Linked DNA regions of Homo sapiens: all the other regions are linked to region 1. Evidence: promoter capture Hi-C in human tissues and cell types (Jung and others, 2019). All regions are on one chromosome and are shown on one strand. Each heading gives the region's core, a stretch centred on a gene start or on the middle of the fragment in contact. The rest is flanking DNA. Distances are from core to core; before and after follow the strand shown. Region 1 holds the start of LYPD6B (LY6/PLAUR domain containing 6B). Region 2 has its middle 84 kb from the start of MIR9899. Region 3 overlaps LYPD6B (LY6/PLAUR domain containing 6B). Region 4 overlaps LYPD6B (LY6/PLAUR domain containing 6B).

Region 1 (5,707 bases), core at 1,487-3,986:
CTGGAGTGCAATGGCAGGATCTCGGCTCACTGCAACCTCTGCCTCCTGGGTTCAAGCAATTCTCCTGCCTCAGCCTCCCAAGTAACTGGGATTACAGGTGCCCGTCACCACGCCCGGCTAGATATACATTATTAATATACATGTTGAGTCCTAAGTAAAGACAGGAAAAATTAGGAAGGTAAATATATCCTAAGGCTCAGAAGTTTTTTGGATTGTTGCTTCTTTGGATAATTTATATTTCATTATATTATCAGAGAACTAGAGATAGAGCAGAAACTGAAGATTTTCTAGTTCAAATATCATTCTCCTAGAGACCAGTAGAGAATAGCAATAAATAGTTATTTGTAAAGATTAATTAATTCATTCTAGAGTCTTATGAAGTCTATCAGTGGTTTTGTCCCTATTTCCAGCATTTTAATGTTGATCAGAAGTGGGCTGGCTCTCTTTGCACTGCTAGGCAGAGCTACTGTTCACTGAGCAGGTGCTTTGTGCTGGCGCTGTGCTCAAGCACTTTACGTGGATTATTTAACTTAGCCACACAACAGTATCAGAACTTCTTATTTCAGATACCCCTTTTAAGCAAAAAACTTCAAACAGAGATCTTGTCTGATTTCATGGCTGCACATTTTCCAAGTAGGAAAAACACACAATTGAGGAACATGCCCAAGGCTGCTCAGCAAGCACAGGAGAGAGAGTGGGGTGGGGAGGGAGAGATCACGTGCAAGCAAGCAAGCACTGGGGCAGAACCTGTACCCTCCTGATGATTCTCAGGCCTGTCTGGGTGGCATCACTTAGCAGGCTGGCCCAGCCAAGATCACACGCACAGCAGCAGGATTTTAAATCACAGGGGATCACATGCTCTACTGACTGAAACCAACACAAAAAAAGGTCTAGGTCCATTTCATGTGAGTGAGACCCAGAGGTGCTCCTTTGCTCAGCCCTACCTGCTGGTGCAAGTGGCTGTCCCAAAGTGCAGGCCCCACCACAGCTCCACCCTGGGACACCAGATTCCCTGCCACCATAGAGGGAGTAGCAACTGAGGTAGGGCACACCTAGGTGGGGCATCCCATATAACCTTTTCTAGGTTGGCCTTGCCCAGTGTGACGTAGCCAGCCAGGTAACACCAGATCTGAAATACCCATATGTGCAGAACCCACTGAAGGGGTGGGGTGTCTAGACCTTAAGAGTGTTGGGCTTGTTGTCAGTGGAGGGGTGGAGCAGTCTTCTTGGCCCTGACCTCACCTTAATAGAGATCCTCCCATTTTGGCCTTGGAGGTTTAATATATAGTCACGGAAGTGTACTGAAATAGTCATAAGAAGGAATGTTCTCCATACAACTTTAAAGTTGTACAGTGCTTTCTGCAGTGAAATGAATTTTTTCACGGAATGGATTTTTTTAACGAGTCTTGAAATTAACATGTGAGGAGCAGCATGACACATTACCTCGTGTGTGTGTGTGTGTGTGTGTGTGTGTGTGTGTGTGTGTGTGAGTGAAGGCCATTTGTTAAATGGAACACCTAAAAATACCATTGTTTTTGTTTTTGCGGTTGTCAGGGGCCTCAATAAATGCAAGCTGGCTCAGGAGATGCTTGACCTCAGAGGTCTGGAAAGACAGATTAGAAGTCTCAGCAGAGGACCAAACCCAGACCCCACTTCTGCAGAAGTTCTGTACCCAGGTTTCCCCACTGCAGGCATAACCAGCAGCCCCTCAAAGGCCCCAGACCAGCCAACTGTCTTTAGAAATGCAGACCCAGGATCAGCTTTGCTACCAGCCATGGAATCTTGGGTCAGTGGCCCATACTCTGAGCTGTGTTTCCACAGTGCAAGGCTGGCCGGACAGTGTTTTATTTCAGAGTTCTCCTGTCTGTGGCATCTTCAGAAGTTAAAGATTTGCTTGACCACTATAAGGTGCCCTGGGAGTGTAGACCTCCCACATCCCAGCTGCCTGGCTGGCAGTGGGTGGGGAGTAAGCAGTAGAGAGAGGACAGGTGGCCCGGAATCTAACAGCTTGCCTCTGGATTCTCCCTAGTAAGCTTGGAATGATGCTGGAGCAGCTCTGGGCCGAGGGGACCAGTCTAACGCTGGACGCAAAAGACTGGGCGCCACCTAGTCTGTTCATCAGGTATTAAATGCCCTGAGTTTTCAAAGCTCTGGTGATTCAGTAGTGGACGGGTAAGGTTCCTGCCTCTCCTGGGGCTTACCGTCCAGGGGTGGGGAGGACGTCACTATATGAAATTATCTTATTTATAGCTTAATGTCATTATTTAAAAAGGGGGAGGGAATCACTTGACGGGTGGGCAAGGTGGGGACGGGGTTGGATGGAATGGTCAAAAAAGGTCTTTCAGAGTTCTTCCAATCCTGAACTAACTCACCTGCACCCTTGGCCCAATCATTTTCACTCCCGAGGGTCTGCACTCCTCGTTTCTACATTGGTTTTCTAGGAAGAAAGGGGTTGGACCCTCCCCTCTTTAAGCTGGGTGGGGTCCGAATCCCGTGCTTCTTTCACTTCCTGAGCCGGGCTGGCTGGGTGGGAACAGGCTCCTTGCCGCCTCCCCAGCGCTGGCCACTACCACACTGCCGCCCGCCTGGGCCTCCTTTCAACCTCGTGGTGGAGCCCTGCGGTTTCCCAGCGGAGCCGGGCCCGGGGCTGCTCCCTCGCGGGCGAGGCTCACCTGTCCCGGCCCGGCCCCCTCCCGCGCCCCAGGTGGTTCAGGGCAGGGAGGAGCCGCGCCCCGCCCCGCGCGGTAGCAGCCAACGCCGGCCCCAGGCGGGTGCGCTGGGAGCCTGGGCCGGGAGCCGGGTGAGGGCGCCGAGAGGCTCGGTGGGCGCGGGCGGCGAGGTGAGCTGGGCCAGCGCAGCAGGCGGGGGCGGTGGTGGGTTCGGGACGGCTCACCCCGCGCCGGAGCGAGTGCGGGGCCGCGCGACTGCGGCGGGAGATGCGCTGCGCCCCTTCTGGGCGCGCTGGGGCAGCCAGGAGCTCGCGGGGCCGCGGGGCCGCGGGGCCGCGGGGCCGCGGCGCAGTGGCGGGGTCGGGGTCTGGTCGCTGCCTCGAGGCGAGCAGCTGCCAACATCTGGACGGGACGGGAGCAGGGGGCCGGGGCAAGGCTGGAGCGGTGTGGGTCTCTAATCGTCCAGAGCCCTGCGGGGCCAGTGACTTCGGCAGAGCCGAGGGGAGAGGAGATACTGGGGGTCAAACTGCTGGAGAGAGCGCGGAGCTGGGGCTGGGGTTCAAGGCCGATCGTGGGGCCAAGAGCGAGCGTGCCAGCTCCAGTGTTTCCCCCTGCAGCGCTTCACGCGCGACCAGCTTGGGTGCCGCCGCTTCCCTTGCCCCGGCTCTTTACTTTTGTTGTTGAATAACCTACCTTACACATTGGTTAGTTACCTGGGGCTTCTCAAAAGCCGGGTCTGGAGGCTGCTCTGACTCCAGGGGGCTTGGGTTGTGAGGCTTCAGGTCTGTATGCCCTGTGGCGTTTGGGGGGAGCTGGTGGGTGGAGGGGTGCTGTCCACCTCCCAAGGCCAGGGGATCAGAGAGTGGGAAAAGTCTAGAATGCTATTTAAATTCCAGTAACTAGCTGTGTGACCTTGGGCAAGTTACTGAACTGCTCTGAGCCTCAGTTCCCTTAAAGTAAAATAGGTATTATTAATATTATAATCATTACAACAGACTTAGGTTATATGATGTTCATGGAGTACATAGCATACTGCTTGATTTTTCCCCCTTTGTGTTGATGTGGTGATGTGTGTGTTGTGGGGTGGGGGCATTCTTTCCCACCCTGACTTGTTCATGGTTAGGCTTCCTCCAGGATGCCTTACTTGCTGACAGCATCACAGAGGCCAAGATTAGGGCTGCCAGTGCACGGGCCCTGCAGATGGAGGGGGTGTTGTCAGACTGCCCTCATCATTACCCATCGTATTTGTCAGAATTGTTTTCTTTGGGTTGGGTTTTGGTCACTTGAAAATTGCCTTATACTATGTAGAAATTGATTGGGTCACATAAATGAAAAGGTCGAGGGTTTCAGTTTAAAGCTATAGCTAGTTCCAGAGGCTCATACAAGGTTCCAGGGCTAGTTCTCTCTCTTGTATATCTTAGCTGTTTTTCTCTCTGTGTTTACTGGTTCTTAGTATGGACGATAAATAGGACTTGCACCTTCAGGCTTATCTGCTCCTTCAGAGAGAGAGACAGAGACAAAGAGGGAGAGAGAGAATCCCATCTTCTCTATCCGTATAGCAGTCTCTCTCTGTCTCTCTCTCTCTCTCTCTTTTTTTTTTTTTCTTTTGAGACAGACTCTCACTCTGTCACCCAGGCTGGAGTGCAGTGGTGTGATCTCGGCTCACTGCATGCAACCTCCACCTCCCAGGTCCAAGCGATTATCCTGCCTCAGCCTCCCAAGTAGCTGGAGTTACAGGCGCCGGCCACCACGTGGGACTAATTTTTGTATTTTTAGTGGAGATGAGGTTTCACCATGTTGGCCAGGCTGGTCTCGAACTCCTAACCTCAAGTGATCTGCCCGTCTTGGCCTCCCAAAGTGCTGGGATTATAGGAGTGAGCCACTGCACCCGGCCCCTTATAGCAATCTTATTGACATACTGGACCAAAACAGAACCAAGCCATCTCAGCAGACAGGGAGAGGTTTACACAACAGGAATGGGCACATGACCGACTGTGATTGATAGACTGGCCCACCTCTGCTGCAAGGCATGTCGGTAGGGGGCGCAATTCCCAATGAGAAGTCTGACAAAACAGGACATGTTCATTTTACTATCTCTGTCTTTGCTCACCAGCGCCTAAAGGTAGTCTGCAGTAGAATGTAGACAGCCTGAGGGCCGTATTCCATCAGTCAAGTCTTCATCTAATGCATGGAGGGCATCCTGTGTGTCCATCTTTTCATTCATTGTTTTTTGTTTATTCATTCATTCGACATATAATAAATGCTCAACATATGCCAGGGCCTCTGCCAAGGGCGAAAATGCTTGCTTTTGAGAAGCTCACAGTCTAGTTGGAAAGACAGATATGAGGATAACATCGTCTAGGACTCATCTGTCTGGGGACGTAGTGAAGACTCCCCAAAGAAACTGTAGTTGAGCTTTGAATTGAAAATGAGCTCCAGCCTGGGCAGCAGAGCAAGACTCCGTCTCAAAAAAAAAAAAAAAAAAAAGAAAATGAGAAGGGCTGGTCTAGGAGAAAAATTCTAGGCCATGTGGTAGGATTCCAGAGGGACACTTTTTGTTGTAATATGTTTAGGTTACTCTACTTTCTTGCTTAGAACATCTGAAGGTAGGTCGTTCGAAGTGGCCACAGCTCTTTGGTGGCTTCTAGAAAATTATCTTCTTTTTCCAGGGTGACTAGAGCTCCATCATGCCTTCACATGACAACATCCAAAGCAGAAAAAAGAAGGCCGGGGCTTGCTGCTTAATCTTTCTCTAGATAATAAAGGACAAATTTTCCCCGAAGTTCCCCGCGTCACTGGCCAAAGTGGTCTAACGCTTACCCTGAAACCAGTCATTGGCAAAGGAGAAGAGGGGCCCATGATTGTTTTGCCCAAGCTATTTTCCGGAGCTGTAGGAGGGGCTCACCTACCTGAGCATCCATGCTCCATGTCTGAACACAATCAGAATTCTGTTAGCAAGGAGGAAAGTGAGACTGCCTGTTGGGCTGTTAGGTAGGCAACAAACTGTGTCTCCCAGAGGTGGGGACAGGTGATGCAAG
Region 2 (5,707 bases), core at 2,281-4,780, 210 kb after region 1:
TAGAAAAACAATGTTCTTTTTCTTGCTCCTTCTCCAAAAGTCCATAGAAGGTACTGTACTTATGGCCAATTGAAGAGTGCTAGGTCCATCCTTGGGTCATTGATTTGTCTGAATTAGTTCAATGCTGTTATATATCTGTAGTAATCTGCATCAGGGAAAGAATTAGCTTCCAAGTACAACTTCTTCTCTTCCTTCTGTTGGGTCCTATGACCATCTTGGGCTTACCTCTGTGGCAGAAGCATGGACATTGTAGTTGACAGCTCTACCAAGACTATGTGGTGTGAAGAGAATACTTAACACCTGACACTCCTACTAGCAACATATAAAAGTGCTCATCTCCCTGTACACTTGCAACAGTGATTATTGCTTTTTTGCATCCCAATGGCAAAGATTTTAAAAAATTGGTATCTCATTTCTGTTTTAATTTTATTTCTTTAATGCAGAGGGTGTATTTTTTGCTATTTCTCTTCTTTTTAAAAATGGCCCATTCCTATCTTTTCCCTTTCCACCAGAGTGTATTTTTTTTTTCAGCTTGAATTTCTTTGCAACAAAAACTTGTGTATGTGTGTGTGTGCTTAAGACAGTGGTCCTAATTTGGGCTTGGGGTTGAGGAAATAATGTCAGAATCATCTCACCTCCATGTCAATATGGCTGATGAGGAAAAGGAAGCCGAATATTAATATTTTGAAAAAACAGGATATTCTGGTACCCTAGCTAATTAATTAACTCAACCATTCACTCATTTGTGCAGTCATTTCACAAATACTTATTGAGTGCCTACTGTTTTAGGCACTGTTCTAGGACCTGGAGCCACAGCTGCAGTGAGACAACACCGCTGCCTGCATGGAGCTTGCATTGCAGTGGAGAAAATATGTGACAACCAGCACATGACAATGAGCACTGTGAAAAAAATATAGCAGAGTAAAAGAATAAAATGTGACAGTGGTGGGAAATTTAAATACCACGGTCTTAGCCTCACCATAAATGTTAGATAGCCTTTTGGACAAAGAAGGAATAGTTATCCTTTGGCAACCCTTCCCTTCTTCTTTTCCTCCCTCCCTTCTGCTTTTCCCTCCTCCCTCTTTCTTCCCTTTGCAACTGCAGTTAGGACAAGTAAGGCAGATGCAGTGAAAAGATCTAAGGTTTTTTTGTTTTTTTTTTTCTTTTTCTTCGTGGAAAAGCCTATTCCTGGTGAATATTTTATCATTCCCTTCAAGGAGACAGTTCAACCTTGGTGAAATTGGCTTATACTTGAGATGAATAGATGTCTTTTAGGTCCCATCAGCTCTCTTTCTTCATTGCCCAATTCTCAAAGGTGACTGAGGTATGCACAGAGTATTCCATGACCTCAGAACTTTCGCATTAACACGCTTGGCTAACAAGCTTTTTCTTGGCCTGTGTGTGTTGGCTTATCTCCATTTTTGAATAGAGGAGTAATTAATTTTCAAGCGTTCTTGATTCAGTCACAGAGCTAATGATGTTGAGCATAAAAATACTTCTTCTAAAATGAAATTTATGCCAGTTCACTTCTGTCCAGCAGTTCTTCACTATCAAGCTTCTTTTTTCAGCTTGTTTCAAATTAAGCCTTTTAAACTCTCCTTGTCCTCATTTGAGCCTGTTTTAGAGGAGCAGTCTTGGAGCAACATTGTCATAGTGACCCTCACTTATCTTACCAATTCAGTTCAAAGCTTCTAATTTAGTGGACTCTGTTTATGAGTATTTGTATACATTAGCATAATGTTCTCGGTGACTCCTTGGCCCTTAACTTTTCCTCTGAAAATTTAAGTACCTCTTTCTTGAGATTTCTGTAGACCAGTATCTGGGCATTTGTAATGGTCCTTTAAAATTAAAGTACAATTCATATATTAACATTAAATAAGTGGCTGGCACACTAATCCCATTGTCTTTTTACTTGAGAAGAGAGAATAATAGTGAAAAAATAAAGTAACAAATATAAAGACATCGAATATGCCTGCCTACATATTTGCTTGCTAGCAATATCTTCAGTGCAATAGAATCACATGCTCATGCAGCAGGGAAGTGGGACAAAAGGAGGGATTCCTTCTGTTCCTTTCTTTGTACCAAAACTTTAGGTCAAGTGTTTTTTCCAATTACTCTTTTAATTGTAATTATTTACATTCAAATGTTGATTACCAATGCTAAGGGTGGCAGATTATTTAGGAGTGTCCCTAATCCAAAATTGACTTCAATTTAGCTTTGAAATGCACTTTGGTGCTTTAATTTTAAGATGGGATCATGAAGATTCATAATATTTCACACAACATGTGGTATCTATTTCAATTACTTAAGGAAGTAAGTAAGCTGAAAAGCGGGTAGTAATGTGTTCAGAGTGTGGACAGCATCAGACATACCAGAATTCTCATCAAGACTATGCCATTGTAGAAAAAAAAGTGACCTCAGGAATGGTGATAGTACTTATCTCATCAGATATTTGAAAGGATTAAAAGAGAGAAAAGCATGTAATCACTTAGCAAGGGGCTCAGTACATGATAAGCTTCCAATGTGAATTATTATTATTGTACTATTTGAATGCATCAACTATTGGATGTATGTATTGGATTTTTGAAATGTCAGACAAGGTTTCATGTCAAAATCTTTTAAAAATGTATTATCATAGGCTTTGGAAAATATGTTATCAAGGATAAGAAACCAGACGAATGCCAGTAAATGTAAACTAAGAACTACATAAGTACTTCTCTGGATCAGCAAGGCCAAATGTGAGGTCGTGTAGGAGCTGGTGCTGGGCCTATACATTTTTATGTCTTTTATAATTGTTTTGAAGGCAGGAGAACAGAAGTTGCCAACTTTGCAAAAATACTCAAGAAACTCTAGGAATGTCTAGTAGCTATTTTTTTTTTTTTTTTTTTTTTTTTTTTAGAAAGCTAACATAAGGATCTGTTCTGGAGTGTTTCAAAATGAGGCAGATGAGCTTCAATGTGGCAAATACAAATAATGCATTTTTTATAACATGTATGAAAGGTGAGCTAACAGCTTTGGTGCAGGCCAACCAGACTGGTTGCTGTCTTCCTTAAAGCTGCCAAAAAGGCCTAGGAAAGGCTGGGCAAGAGATGGAGGGAGGCTCCTCAATGCAGAGTTTCCCCCCCTCCTATGTAATCACTGCACATTGTGAACTTAGGAAAAACATAATGAATGTGGACCCAGTCCAAAGAAGGCAGCAAAACTGATCAGGAAGCCGGAAGAACATGTATAAAAAGAAACTCCAATGCTGGCGTTTCATCAGCAGCGTCTGAAACCTTAGAAATGTTGAAGCTGGGAATATTCAGAGAGAATATACCAAACACATTAACACAATTATTAAATATGAAAATGAATTTGTTGATTAAATTTTGGCCTATTAAGATAGGTGGGATACTCCTCAAGGTTTAAAAGAGATTGTTAGTACATATGAAAAAAAGAAATAGTTTCAGAGCAATAATGAATATATGAAACTTATCAAATCAAATAAATAAAAATAATGTAACTTAAAGATGGTAATAATGAATTATTAGATTAGAGCTTCAGATCATGTTATTTGGACAAAAGAAGGAAGTTTAACTTAATGATAATGCCCCAGTTGGCAACTTCAACACATGGTTTCATTTTCTTCGTTTCATTATAGGAAAATTAGATTGAATTGTTCATCAGTCCTATACAGTAAGGCAATGTCTCCTTTTTTTAATGTGTTAGTCAATTTGATAAATGTATTGTATTCTTTTATGAGATGGTCAGTCGGGTGTGGCCATAAGAAGAGATATAGGAGAAGCTCAGGAAAACAAAGTCTGTTATGCTTACAGATCCTGAAGACAAGAGGAACGTCATGCCACACCACACAAGGCCACGTGAGAAAGACACCAGGTGGTCAGAAGGAAGAAGAGTTTAGGCCACTGCCTTTATTGTGGTTCCCCAGAAAAAGGCAAGGCAGGGCCAGGTAAATAGTTTTGGACTGGCTAGCTTGAATAATTTCCTCAGGCTTTGGACTTAGGTGTGGTGCCTAGTTATCTGGCACCTGGCCTGGGGATGATCAGACAAAAGAATATTACCCGCTGGGGTGTATGGCCAGATAGAGGAGGTGTGGCTCCGGATTGGTTAGTTTGCACATATATGTGACACAGGCTGGGCCCTTTGCTACCTGTAAGAACTGACCAGCCCCAAGAAGGGCAGCTTCTCACTAGCCAGGAAGATTTTTTAAGATGTCAAAACATAAAATACAGAAAATTAAAAAAGAAATTTGCAATAAGGTAAAAAATCTATTTTGATAAAAATTTTAATTGAAATATAATATGCATATAGAAATATGCACGAATCAAAGTGTTTGATGAATTAGCACAAAGTTAACACACTCACATACTACCATCTAGATCAGGAAATTGAACATTCCCAGCATCCCAAAACGTCACTGACACCTTCCCAATCCCTATACCCTTCTTCCCCCTGCCCTTTCCCCAGCCAAAGGTGACCACTGTCATAACCTCCCATACCATAGATTAAGCTGCCCTATTTTTGAGCTTCTTACAAAAGCAATTATATGGTATATATTCTTTATTTGTCTGACTTTATTCAAAATTATGTTTGGGAGATTCATTTATATTGTATACTGTGGTAGTTTATTCATTTTTATTGCTGGTTATTATTCCTTTATATGAATATACCATAATTTATCCATTCCAATAGTGGACATTTGGGTCATTTCCACCTTGGGGCCATTAGGAACGAAGCTACCATTGCTATCTTGTATGTGTGTTTTGGTGCACATTTAAAGACTGTCGAGTATACACCTAGGAGATGGATTCAGAGAGCACAGGGTATGCCTGTAATGAACAAATTTTGGAAAAAAGATAGAAAAATTCTGCAAGTTCCTTTCTCTACATCAACTCCTCAATGTTTTCTGCATGTTGGAAACTATCTTTTCTGCCAAACGAAGCAAGGAACTGACCTTTACTTCTGGGTCAATACTAAAAGGAGAAACACGCATTCTGAAGCTGCTGGGTGTCATGGCTTATTGGGCAGTTTCAGACCCTTAGAATTTAGTAACTCTGTGAATCTCCATGAAAGGTGCTGCTTTCATGGCACCTGCCTTCCTCAGGCTGCAGAATTTGCTTTCACATGTGGATAAAGCTTCTTCGCATTAACAACTCTGTAACATCTGGAAGTGGACTTTGATATTTTCCTTTGCTAATAGATACTGTCTAATGAAGGATGAATTGCAACCTGACGTTTTCTGAGACTTCAGGTGGGGCTGCCTGGTACATTGCTTTATTAATGTTAGATGATTGGAATTTTTGGATCTGCACCTAGGGGACACTCAAGGGTTTAGAGTAGAAGGTATGGGTGCTATCCTTTCACTGACTGTTTGAATGCAAACAAAGTGCTGCTTTTGTAAAACATTTAACATCCCAAAGAAAGGATTCAGTCAGCACCCCTTCATTGAGTACGTCTGATTCCCGCAAGATTGATATGACTTGCGTATTCCGCAGAGACCTCATTTAGCCTTTACATTGTGTTTGGTTACGTATGGAAACATAGTGCCAAACTTAATTTCGTATCTGCAATTTTTGAGCACTTGCTGAGTGTTTTATGTGTATGACCTCATTGGCTTTTCCAAACAACCCTATGAGTAAGATGCTACTATTTTCTTATAAATGGAACAATGAAGACTTATAACAGTGAAGTACCAATGGTAAGTTAA
Region 3 (5,707 bases), core at 808-3,307, 180 kb after region 1:
GTCCTGGGTGTCAGGATCTTTTTAAAAAGTTCCCCGAGGTGATTCTGATGTGCAGCCAGGGTTGAGAACCACTGATATGGATGCCTAGAGTTGATGCCTTTATCATACCTAGTCATCCTGGAAGCCTCTATGAATGGCTGGGTTTATCAGGTTGAGACATTGTACCTGGCACGGTTTGGTATTACCTGAAAACATCCCCTGAAAACACCAGTTAGGGACAAGCCTTTATTTTTTCTTACACCACTCAGCAACCATAATTAGTAAACCATTGTTGCTGTAATGATAAGAATCAGGTGTTAGCATAGACAATAGAGAGTCATTATTATCCCCTAACAAGTAGCACTGAGAAAGAAAATCAATGACTAATCCGAAAGGTTCCTAGCTTTCATTTTTGTCTGAGTGTTTTCCCTTACAAACCTTTAGAAGATTTGTGGACTCAATCAAGCACTCTTATGCAGTTTCTCTTCCTCTTTGCCTTGCTAATGCTTGGATTTGATGCAGATAAATCACAGTTAGGATAAAAGACTTTCAGCATGGTTTTTCCCTTCCATTCTATTGGCATTGGTGGGGGAAGGGTACCCAAGAGCCTAGATGATGCAAAATTGGATAACCAACTCCAATTGTCTGTCTTCAGATAGAGCTCAAGAAGCCTTTGTTTTATCTTTCTTTCTTTTGCCCCTTCCCTCTTCTATTATTCACTGTCATTTCCTCTCTCCTTTTTTGTAACAGGAGTGTAGGTCTTGCTGTGAAGGAATGATCTGCAATGTAGAATTACCCACCAATCACACTAATGCAGTGTTTGCCGTAATGCACGCTCAGAGAACATCTGGCAGCAGTGCCCCCACACTCTACCTACCAGTGCTTGCCTGGGTCTTTGTGCTTCCATTGCTGTGATGCCACCATTCCTAGGAGAGGCAGAGACCAGCCTCTAAAGCACAAGCCAAAAACTGTGTGAACGGTGAACTTTGGAGTGAAGATCAATCTTGCACTTGGTGAAGAGTGCACATTGGACCTCAAGGCGAAAGCCAGTGGTTTGCTTGGATAAAATGTTCCCGCATGAGGCCACAGGACTGAGGATGGGAATTTGGCAGGGCCTGAGAAGATGGTCTGACTTCCAGGCTTCCTGGTCAAAGAGAGCTACGTTTGGGCAGTTCTGCAGAGAGGATCCTGGCAACTAGTCCCACCTGACTAGGCCTTTAGCTGAAAGGATTTCTTGACCTCCTTGACTGCCTCAGAGGCTGCCAGGTCAAACCCTCTTGTTTATGTGATTAGCTCAGAGCATCTCTATGAAATCTAACCCTTCCCCTCATGAGAAAGCAGTTTTCCCCACCAACAGCATAGTCAATGAGAAAGGCAACTGTACGAAGAAAACTTCCAGTGGAACTAATATGAAATCTATTTGCAAATTATGGGGGGAAATAAAGCTTTTAAATTATACAATGTAAATGCATGCTTGTGTGTTTCTTGACTGATGTGGAGACCTCTGGTGAAACAGTTACCAGGGTCATAAAATAGACATTTGTGTCCATGAACCGTTGGTGATATGTGTTAAACTATAAAATTTGATGCTGAAGCTATTTAGCTTTTTTCTTTTGGGGGAGAGATGCATTTTAGGATGTTAATACAAACTTAGTGAATTGAGAATATCTGGGAAGCCTCCCTGATAAAGGAAGATGACACCTTGTCATATGATGCACCCTCAGCAGTAGTAGCTTCAAAAGTTCTAGTCACAGAAAGTGGCAAGGGGGGGTCCATTTTCCTCCTTCAGTCATATTCTCTATGCATGCCATGTCTACCAAGAGAACTTCTGTAAATACATGCTAAATGTTTGGTCCCATTCTCTTCTCTTTCCACTTACAGTGCAATCTCTGAATTTCAAATGAGCATCTTCTTCCTGTTTCTAGAATTCTGATTTCCTGCCTTCAGTCACACTTTGGGATGACTTTTAAACTCTCTGCCCTTGTATTTATAGTGATGAGCTAATGGAATGGGTTTTTCCCCCCAATTAAATATCCATCATTAGAATGCTGGGTGCCCTTGTAGGCTCTAGGTATTAATGATGCTATCCTTGCCATATGGGCTCACCTATGACATGAGTTGGCAAATTATGGCCCACAGGCCAAATACATTCCACCACCCATTTTTGTGAATAAGTTTTTATTAAAACACAGCCATGGCCACTTGTTTATGTATTGTGTGTGTCTCCTTTTGTGCTATAATGGCAGGGTTGCAGAGATGCAGCAGAGACTGCATAGTCTGCAAAGTCTAAAAGCTTTACTATCTTGCCCTTTTCAGGAAAAATTTGCTGACCCCTAACCTATGGGATGTCAAGACTGCTTAAGGAGAAAGCCACTTTCTTTGCAGGCACCATGTTGCTAATGGTGGTTACTCAGCCTGAGCAATGGTTGGCCAAATCACTTCCCTTGTTTTCTTTGTCTTCTGAGTCAGTGAATTTGTCTTCTGTTTTGATTGTTTCATGTATTTGATTCCATCTTGTAGTTATGTACTGATGTCAGGGGCTGAGCTGTATTTATGTTTCTTCTCATCCTTGACACACTGGGAGCATTTCATCTTAAGGCTCCTTAGCGTCCTATCAAACAGGGAGGGGGCAGACATCATTATCTCCCTGTCTCTGGCCCAAACTTAGACTCACTTGGTAGCATCAGTTTTGAAGCCTAATGTAGATTTATCCTATCTTTCACTCAGCATCTTGAAGTATTTGCATTTTCATAGCTTATACTTGTTTGAAAATAATTATATATGGCTTCACTTGGAAATTTTAATGGCATCTTTGGCATCTTTTTATTCCCCAGGGTTTCTTTTGACTGTGTAATTGACAAATTGTCTGGTAAAAAACCATTAGCAGACAGCACTTTTTTTTCTCTGATTTTGTTTCTGCTGTATAGATTAATGAAGTTTCTTTTGTGTGTGTTTTTTTCTTTCCTGAGGAAATATCTTAATTTTCTCTTCTTCACCCTGAACATCAAGTTCATATGGATTTCACGTCTCACCTCCATTCCCTTAAGCATTTAAAATCGGGGTATGTTGAGCAAAGGAGGGAGTGCAAAGGAAACAAACTTCTGGTAAAGGCAGCTGAGTGAACAGGGGATTATGAATAAAAATATGGGATTCCCCACCAAATTTGAATTTCAGATAAAATCAAATAATTTTTTGTGTAAGTTATTCATGAACTCACAAGATGGGCTTGTCTAAGGAAATGGTTTCAAATCCTTGTAATAAATCTGAATCTTCTGAGTAACTCCAAAACAAAACAAGTTCCCAGGACATTCTGGAGATGTTGATTCAGTAGCTCTGAGGTGAAGCTCAAGCCTACCCCAATAGCTGAAAGTTAAATTTAAACAAACAAAAGCTCTCGGGTGATGATAATGCTTATCCAGGTGTTACCTCTGATGTGAGAGGATCATTCCTTCTTCTGAAGCCTGCTCCTTGGCCACATAATAGGTATGCTAATAAGTAATAAACACATACACAAGCAACCACGGTTACAGGCATAGCTCTAAAAGTGTGGCCCCACAGCGTCACCTGGAAACTTGTTAGAAATGCAAATCTCAGACTCCATCTCAGACCTATTAAATCAGAAACTCTGCAGGTTCAACCGGTGATTTAACAAGGTCTCCAGGTGCTTCTGATGCATGTGAAAGTTTAAGAACCCCTGGACCAGATAGAAGTGCTCCCTAAAAGTCTTCAGTAAATGTGTCCCTGGTATCTGCATGATTGCTTGGGGGATATTGTAAAAAAAAAAAAAAAAAGAAAGAAAAAAATGAACCTGGGCCCCAACTTCAAAGTTAGATTCTCTGCGTTGAGTCAAAAAATGTGTAGTTTAAAAAAAATTCCTCAAATGATTCTGAAGCACAGCCACTTTGGGTGCCACCAAAGGAAATAATAAAAGATGGAAATGATGTTGGTGATCAGAAGGCCCAGACTCCAAAACCTGACCTTTGAGTTCTAATCTGAAAGCCCTATGTACTTTAAGTTAACTCTGTGGTATCTTCAATGTAATTTAAAAACTAGAATGCAAAAAATAAATTCAATCATTAGAGTCCACTGCATAGATATTTAAAGTCCATTGCATAGGGACCTGGGATGGCCAAGCATCCCAGGCCTCAGATTAATTTAATTTGCCCCTAGTGAGTAAGAAAATGAGAAATACTTTGGTGTCAAAATGTCCAATGAGAATCACAGTAGTGGAGTGAGGAAAGACGGGGAACATGTAGATTTGTTAGTATAAAAGAGACAAGGGGATTAGCTATGAATATGAGCAAGATCTGAGGGAATGGCCTGTCAAAGGTCCACTTTGAATAGATCTACATTCTAGAATAAACTTTGAATTCCATCCATCAATCATTCCTTGAAAAAAAAAGTTACCTAACACCTTTCCCCACCCACGTGTAAATGCTCCCTAAATTCAATTCTGAGTGAAAGCAGTCAGAAATTATCGGCATTACTTTCTATACAATCTGCATTCTGTCATGTCAATCACTGGGTAAAATATATTTCATAAGAAAAAGGAAGAAAATGAAGGTGGGTTGGTTTCTCTTTCTCACTGGAAAGGAACTTATGAAGCCATGCAAAGCATGAAATGAACAATGAGGACACGCATGGACATGGGAGATGAGGTGTGGCATGAAATCGGGAAACTATGTTTTACATTCGTGAAATCATCCCTAGGTGAAACTTGTGATATGTAGCTCACCAGTTACAAAGTTTGCTATGACCTTTGGATCTTGGACATTTTATTCTATTTTATTTTATTGCATCATTATGTGTTGTCAACTATAGGATTTGTAGAGGGTTACATGGTGATACTGATTGTGTCTGGGTGCAGATCATGCCAGAAGACAAAGGCTAACAAATGGGCAAAGGTGAAAGTCCAAGAAACTGAAAAACAGTTGTGATTTGAGTCCACCTTTAGTCACAGTTTCTCTACTGTGTATCTGAAACAGTGCAGCATCTTTCTGTTACTCTTCCCACTCCCCTCTCATCTTCACAATTCTGTCTCCTGCCCAGCCCCCCTCACTCCTTGCCTTGGCTTCTATTTCATCAGATGCTGAGACTGGAAGCTGAGCTGTCTTTAGGGTGATCCAGAGTTGAGATCATTCTGGTTGGGGCTGTGAAAAATAGGGCTTCTGCAGCTCAATGCCGGAAGTACTATTTAGCAGGTCTGAGAATCTTCATTTTTAACAAGCATCTGATTCTGATATTGATGATTCTCACCCTGGTAGTCTTAGGGCATCATTTTTTAGAAAAAAATAACCCAGGCCCTCAACATAAGGCTGCAGAGCTCTGTGTTGAGAGCTCACAGTCTCCTAAGCCACCACACAAGGACTTTTTTAGTTCAGGAAAATTGGTTCCAGCTAAGGGTCTGGGAGCACGTGGAGGACATTGTGGATTGGCAGAGCTGCCACGTTGAGAATGGCCCTGAATTGCCTAGGACAAATGGGAGCTCCAGGAAGGGATTCTGGGTCCCCTTCCAGGCAAGCAGGATGTCAAGGGCTCTGAGCACTGACTTGAATCCCTGGGCATCATAGCTGAGTGCGGCAGTAAGAAGCCATGCAAAGCAATGGGCAAGGTGAGCCCATCCACAGGGCCTAAGTGCAGACTCAAAATCAGTTCCAATGCAAATATTTTCCAAAAGAGGACAGGCAACACAGGGCAAGCAAGTCTTGAAGATAAACTCTGATTAGAT
Region 4 (5,707 bases), core at 1,338-3,837, 160 kb after region 1:
AGTTTTCTTAAAATTGGTCTTCAGAGGAATTTTACATTCTGCTGTCATATGTGCTCAGATAATCATAGAATTTGAGAGCTGAAAATATGTATATTGAATTTCAGTCTTAAATCTTGTCAGCTATTGTATGGCCTTAATGATATTGGCCTGTATGATCATCCATAGAGGAACAATAAATCTCTGTATTGAGCTTTCTAAGTGATTTAATAATTTGACAAAAATGGAAATAGATAGGGGCTTATTTTTTATTCTCCTTTAATTTGCATAAAACTCTCTGCAATATAGGTATTTGATATCTCTATTTTACTGATAGGGAAACAGTCTCAGAGCAATCCAGTGATCAGCTAGAGGCAGTAGATCCTGGACAGAGCTAGAATTTGCCCCCAGGCCTGAGTGCCTCCAGAGGCCGGTTTCTCCCCATTATACTAGGCAGCATTTACACTTGACTTTACCCTTGTGGGACCATGAACCGTATCGTGAACCATTTAATGTAGTTTTTCATTTTGCAATTAAAACACTATTTAACATACATAATTTTTCAGTTTCCAGGGAATATGAAATTATGCACATATATATCTTTATATATGTACATTTCCTTCTGCTCCAAGTGGTAATAGTGGCAATTTATGGAGCAAGTGACACGCTGTAACTTTGTTATATATTCAGAATGCAGAAATTTTTTATTAGTATTGCTTTTATAAGCTTGTCAGCTTCCAGAGAGTTCTTTGAATAATCTGTTCTGGATTTTGTGACTATGCAAAAGTCAGCATGATATTCTTTGCCATAGCATGCAGTTTATTGTTCGTTTTTAAATGCCCTCCTGTTTCAAAATGATAGATATCTACAAACATGTTCTTTACTTGGGTAATATATTTCTAGATGTGGATTCAAGAATAAAGTTGAGTGAGTGGGGGCTTTATAAACAATGGTCAGCGACATGAAACCCTAGGACAGAAGTAAAAAGACAGGACAGATGCATAGTAACAATTCTGCATCGTGCAGCTCTCCCAGTTGAAAGATAACCATGTGGGTGCTGAAGGCAGTTGAGATTATAGGGAATACTGTCTCCTAAACAGAGTTCTAGGGACAATTTTACAATCTGGCACACAGTGCTTAAGCAATGAATTCATTCAATAAAATATATGTATGTCTGTGTATATGCACATATACACATATCCAAACACACATATACAGAGACATTTCTCAAGTGAGAAACACATCTGTATGAAAACTTTATTTTTACGATCATTTTTCTATGTCAGCTGAGGCTAAACGAAGTCAAAAAGTGCTAGCCATCACCTTACACACCGAGTGACCCTGAATGCTAAATTTCCTCAACTGAATGCCACGTATTAGAGTGCATTTGTGGCATGATACACTCCTCCACTCAACCAATGTCGAGTAATGGACTGTTAGCCAGCTGCAGGACATTTCAGCCTCCATTTCTCTTAAGAGAGCTTTGATTGGTTATTAAAAGAAATGAGTTCAATAAAGAGAGCAGCTCTCCTGCAGAACTTCTGTCCACCTATATCTTTCTCTCAAGTATAAAGACACTCCTCTCCCATGGAAAAGAAAAACAAATCTTTCATTTATATACCTGATAGCAGAAGGGTCTGTATAGAATTACCTTTCCATGTTATGTCCTTGGCTTTTTTAAAGAAATGGTCAGGCTAGACACGGTGGCTCATGCCTGTAATCCCAGCACTTTGGGAGACCGAGGCGGGCAGATCACAAGGTCAAGAGATCGAGACCATCCTGGCCAACATGGTGAAACCCCGTCTCTACTAAAAATACAAAAATTAGCTGAGCGTGGTGGCACACGCCTATAGTCCCAGCTACTCAGGAGGCTGAGGCAGGAGAATCGCTTGAACCTGGGAGGTGGAGGTTGCAGTGAGCCGAGATCGCACCACTGCACTCAAGCCTGATGATAGAGCGAGACTCTGTCTCAAGAAAAATAAATAAATGGCCAAATGATGGATGCATCTGGAGGTCCTCAAAACGAATTTCAGGTGTTATTCATATGTTGCTTGGTGCCCCCTATATTGTAGCTGGTATGACTCATTAATTAGAGAATTAAGTATCAGGAAGAGTTATCTTTTCTCAAATAATGAGAATCAGTGCGTCCCATGTCTCCCCTGGCTTCTAGGAAGTACAGAGCAAAGGGAAATGCACAGCTGAGTGCTTCGTTCATGGAAGGGGTTAGGATCTTTGCTATCCTCTCATCCAGTATGGGTTTTATTCAGTATTTTAAGAGCTTTAATGCATACATGACTTGGCATAAGCCTCCTAAAAATCATTTATGGAAACAAACAGGGTAAAAATTATTTCACCTGTGTGAAGGAGACTCTCAAATGTGATCAACGCACTTATTAGGTTCCTACCATTTGTCCAAATAGTTGGATAAGACATGGCAAACCAATCTTGATTCTTTTTAAAGGGAGTTTCTAATTCCTAAACATCTAAGCTTTTCTTTTTTTTTTTTTCTTTTCTTTTTTGTGAGACAGAGTCTCGCTCTGTCACCCAGGCTAGAGTGCAGTGGCATGACCTCGGCTCACTGCAATCCCCGCCTCCTAGGTTCAAGTGATTCTCCTGCCTCAGCCTCCTGAGTAGCTGGGATTACAGGCACGTGCCACCAGCCGAGCTAATTTTTGTATTTTTTAAGTAAAGACAGGGTTTCACCATGTTGGTCAGGCTGGTCTCGAACTCTTGATCTCATGATCTGCCCACCTTGGCCTCCCAAAGTGCTGGGATTACAGGCATGAGCCACCGCGCCTCACTGCTTTTAAATTTTTTCTATGTGGAGCTCTTACCATGTTACCTTTCTGGTGTCATGAAAGCCTTCTCCAGAAAGGTATAAAATCCTGTCTTTGACAGAAATGTAGTTGAAGAGCTGTTACCTTAGAAGAGTCTTTTAGGTTTTTCTTAAAATTTGAATCACATTTAAAAAGATGTCTTTAAAATTGATTAGACTGTTTCTCCACCCAAATTATACACTTATGGGCCATGTATTAATTCATGATTAGATTGAAAATTGATTTGCATAATGAAATTATTTTAACATCAGTGCTGCTTTAGACATTCTCTTTGATCAGGTTGCATGTAGTAGAAAAAGCTTCTGTCTTTGGCATTGCAAAATATACAGCTTTATACTTAAAAAATGAGTTACTTATTTCTGATGAGTTTTTGATCCTATGCTTGATGAGATTTTTTGTAAGTTTAGATTATTTAAAGCAGTACAGCAGGAATCTGAAATGTGATGGGACTGCTGTATTACATTTATGACTCTTTATGGAATAACTAGAATTCTTCATTAATCTCTTTCCATAAAAATTACAGAATATTAGAAGTGGAAGGGACCTTGGCAGTCATTCATTCCAACTTTCCCTTGGTTGCAATAGAGAGAATTTCTAAATCTTAAGAAATCAGTGCACAGAACTCAATCCTGTTGACCAGATTTACTCCAGCCAGTATGCGATGAAGCTGAACATTTATGCCACTTGATCTGATCTCTATTCTGCTGCTAATGATGTCTAAAGCAAGGGCGAAGGAGGGAGAAATGCGGGAAGCAGGCACCTAAGATTTCTTGAACCCCATCTAAGTAAAATGTATTTTACTTATGTAATTGTGCTCAATCCACACCACAACTTAGAAGTTTCCTGTGTGACTCTAAGACTCACTTTTCTTACTGGCAAATGGGCACAGTATTTCTTAACTCTGTGGTCACCTGATTGGTAAATGTAGAACCAGAATTTTCTTCTAGGTATTTCTGAACCTAAAGCTCATTGTTATTCCTCCTCTCAAAGATGATTGTATTAATTCTTGTCAGTCACATCTTACCAGTGGCTCATATTGACTTTTGGTCCCAATAATTTTTGAGCGCACAAGGACGGTGTGCTCAGTACAGTACCTGGTACAAATGCATGACTTATAATTGCACTACTTTCAAGGTTTGGACAAGCTATAGTGAAGGCTGAGGCTGAATCATGATTTTATTTTTTCCTATTGAATGTTGTTATCCAAGAGTAAAGTCTGTTGTGCTCTATAGAGATCTAATCGTCAGATCAAGATGATGGGGTTGATTGTAAGCTCAACTTCTCTCTCCTATTCTGCTTCAGGCACATAGAATGCTAGCTTAAATATATTAAAATTAAAATAATTCATATTTAAACTTGTGGGGGAAAACAACACTCCATGTACCAGAAATAGAGAACCTATTGGCAAAGAGAAATTGAAGCCGTAGGAACTGGGTTCCCAACGCCCAGGGAAGGTTAGGAACTGAAGCCTCAGTTCCCTTGCAAGGAAGGGAGTGAGCACCTGGTCTTGACTAAGCCCCACCTGTGTTCTTCCTAAATTTAATGGGAACCAAAATATCTCCAGTTGCCAACCTGGCCTAACAGCCAGAAGCAAGTAAATGGTAAACTTTTCTGGCCAATTTCCCTTTGGAGGAGGAGTCTTTTTGTCTGTTCCATTCTTTCTGAGTAAAACTTCTGCTCTCATTTTGAATTTCCACTTTGCCTTCTATTCTTTTTACAAGGGAAGCCAGGCCTGTTAAAGATGTCATTAAAGTGTCTTACTGTGAGATAAGTGGTGCTTGCAGGAAGGTGTGAATGTGAGTGTTGATAGGCATGTTGGACTTAGTAGAGCTGTTCCCCTTACATTATGTATTTCATTTATTTTATTGGCAGCTGAAGTTGGCCTTGTGCTTGCTGACTCATTTTTAGCAATTGTGCAAGAAATGGCAGCATTTGCCACCTTTGTTTAGTCTCTTCTTTTTCAAATCACCTTTCATCATTTCTTTATCATCTTTGGACACCCTGCCAATTCTTTACTGCCCACAACTTTTGTCTTGCTTACTAGCTAAGGCACTCTTTATAGGTCATAGCTAATGAGGTTGGCTCTATTCCATAAAGTATCTACTGAGTATCTAGCATGCACTGAGCATGGCCTGGGGAATATAACAAAAAAAAAATGTGGGTCATTTTCCTACCTCAAAAGAGTTTATGATGTCAAAGATGTGCTGCTTCCTGAAGACCCCGTCAACTTTCTGTCTTTTCCCTGGAAGTGTAAAATGCCACACGTTGGATGAGATGATTATCCGAGCTCAGACTTGGGAAATAGTCATGCTTCTGGACCAAGTGCCAGGTAAGTCCTTGATTCTGGTCAGTAATAGGCCAAAGTCTCAGGTGGGGTTTCCTAAATTTACAAATCTGGCTACCTGCCATTCTCTGGAAGCCTGAGAGTTGCCCATCCCTTCTGTATCCCTATAAATATGCCTTGCAGAAATCCCTTCCTTCTGGCAAAGAAGCACTCTGCATTCTGGAGCAAGTATTAATGTATCTTCCGAAGGGAGGACTCATAAAACACAGGAAAAATCAGTACCATAGGTGAGGGATTTCTGACCAGGCCTACTATGTAGGAAAGATGGATGAAGGTAATAAGCTCTGTGTTGGGAAAAATGTTTTGAGCTACGCTTGAAGTCACGATACCTAATATCTATGTGGAACTTTTTCCCTTAGTGTCAAAATATGAAAATGTCTAAGTCACAGGAAGCCAAATTATTATAGCCATATTCTGAAACAGCAAGAAGTCGCTCTTAACCATTATGTGGGTCTCTACAATCGATTATGTGGATTCCTTTGAGATACTCCACCCAGAGGGAAAACATGTCTAGACACATAATTTTGCAAATAACCTGAAGACGCTCATA

Evidence for each region. The method cuts DNA at HindIII sites, captures the fragments that hold promoters and counts their contacts. A contact is called where the count stands out against the background at its distance.
Region 2: a fragment that was not itself captured here is called in contact with the fragment with the promoter of LYPD6B in region 1 in 4 of the 25 tissues and cell types used here (H1 embryonic stem cells, bladder, liver and 1 more).
Region 3: a contact is called between a fragment that was not itself captured here and the fragment with the promoter of LYPD6B in region 1, in 4 of the 25 tissues and cell types used here (bladder, mesenchymal stem cells, pancreas and 1 more).
Region 4: a contact is called between a fragment that was not itself captured here and the fragment with the promoter of LYPD6B in region 1, in 2 of the 25 tissues and cell types used here (H1 embryonic stem cells and spleen).

Annotation. Positions count from the first base shown.
Region 1 is chr2:149,035,963-149,041,669 of GRCh38, forward strand. LYPD6B (LY6/PLAUR domain containing 6B) reads left to right here and starts at 2,737. Exons shown (of 7, transcript NM_177964.5): 1 at 2,737-2,839. RefSeq lists enhancers at 1,807-1,866, 3,080-3,129, 3,170-3,229 and silencers at 2,490-2,829, 2,840-2,999. The HindIII fragment of the contact is 10,219 bases long and covers 1-5,707 here.
Region 2 is chr2:149,243,243-149,248,949 of GRCh38, forward strand. No RefSeq gene overlaps it. Among named protein-coding and RNA genes, the nearest start is that of MIR9899, 84 kb to the right of the region's middle. The HindIII fragment of the contact is 4,122 bases long and covers 1,470-5,591 here.
Region 3 is chr2:149,213,817-149,219,523 of GRCh38, forward strand. LYPD6B (LY6/PLAUR domain containing 6B) reads left to right here. Exons shown (of 7, transcript NM_177964.5): 7 at 730-1,446. The coding sequence ends at 894. Among named protein-coding and RNA genes, the nearest start is that of MIR9899, 110 kb to the right of the region's middle. The HindIII fragment of the contact is 4,926 bases long and covers 1-4,520 here.
Region 4 is chr2:149,195,564-149,201,270 of GRCh38, forward strand. The region is part of intron 3 of LYPD6B (LY6/PLAUR domain containing 6B); the gene reads left to right. Among named protein-coding and RNA genes, the nearest start is that of MIR9899, 130 kb to the right of the region's middle. The HindIII fragment of the contact is 4,767 bases long and covers 205-4,971 here.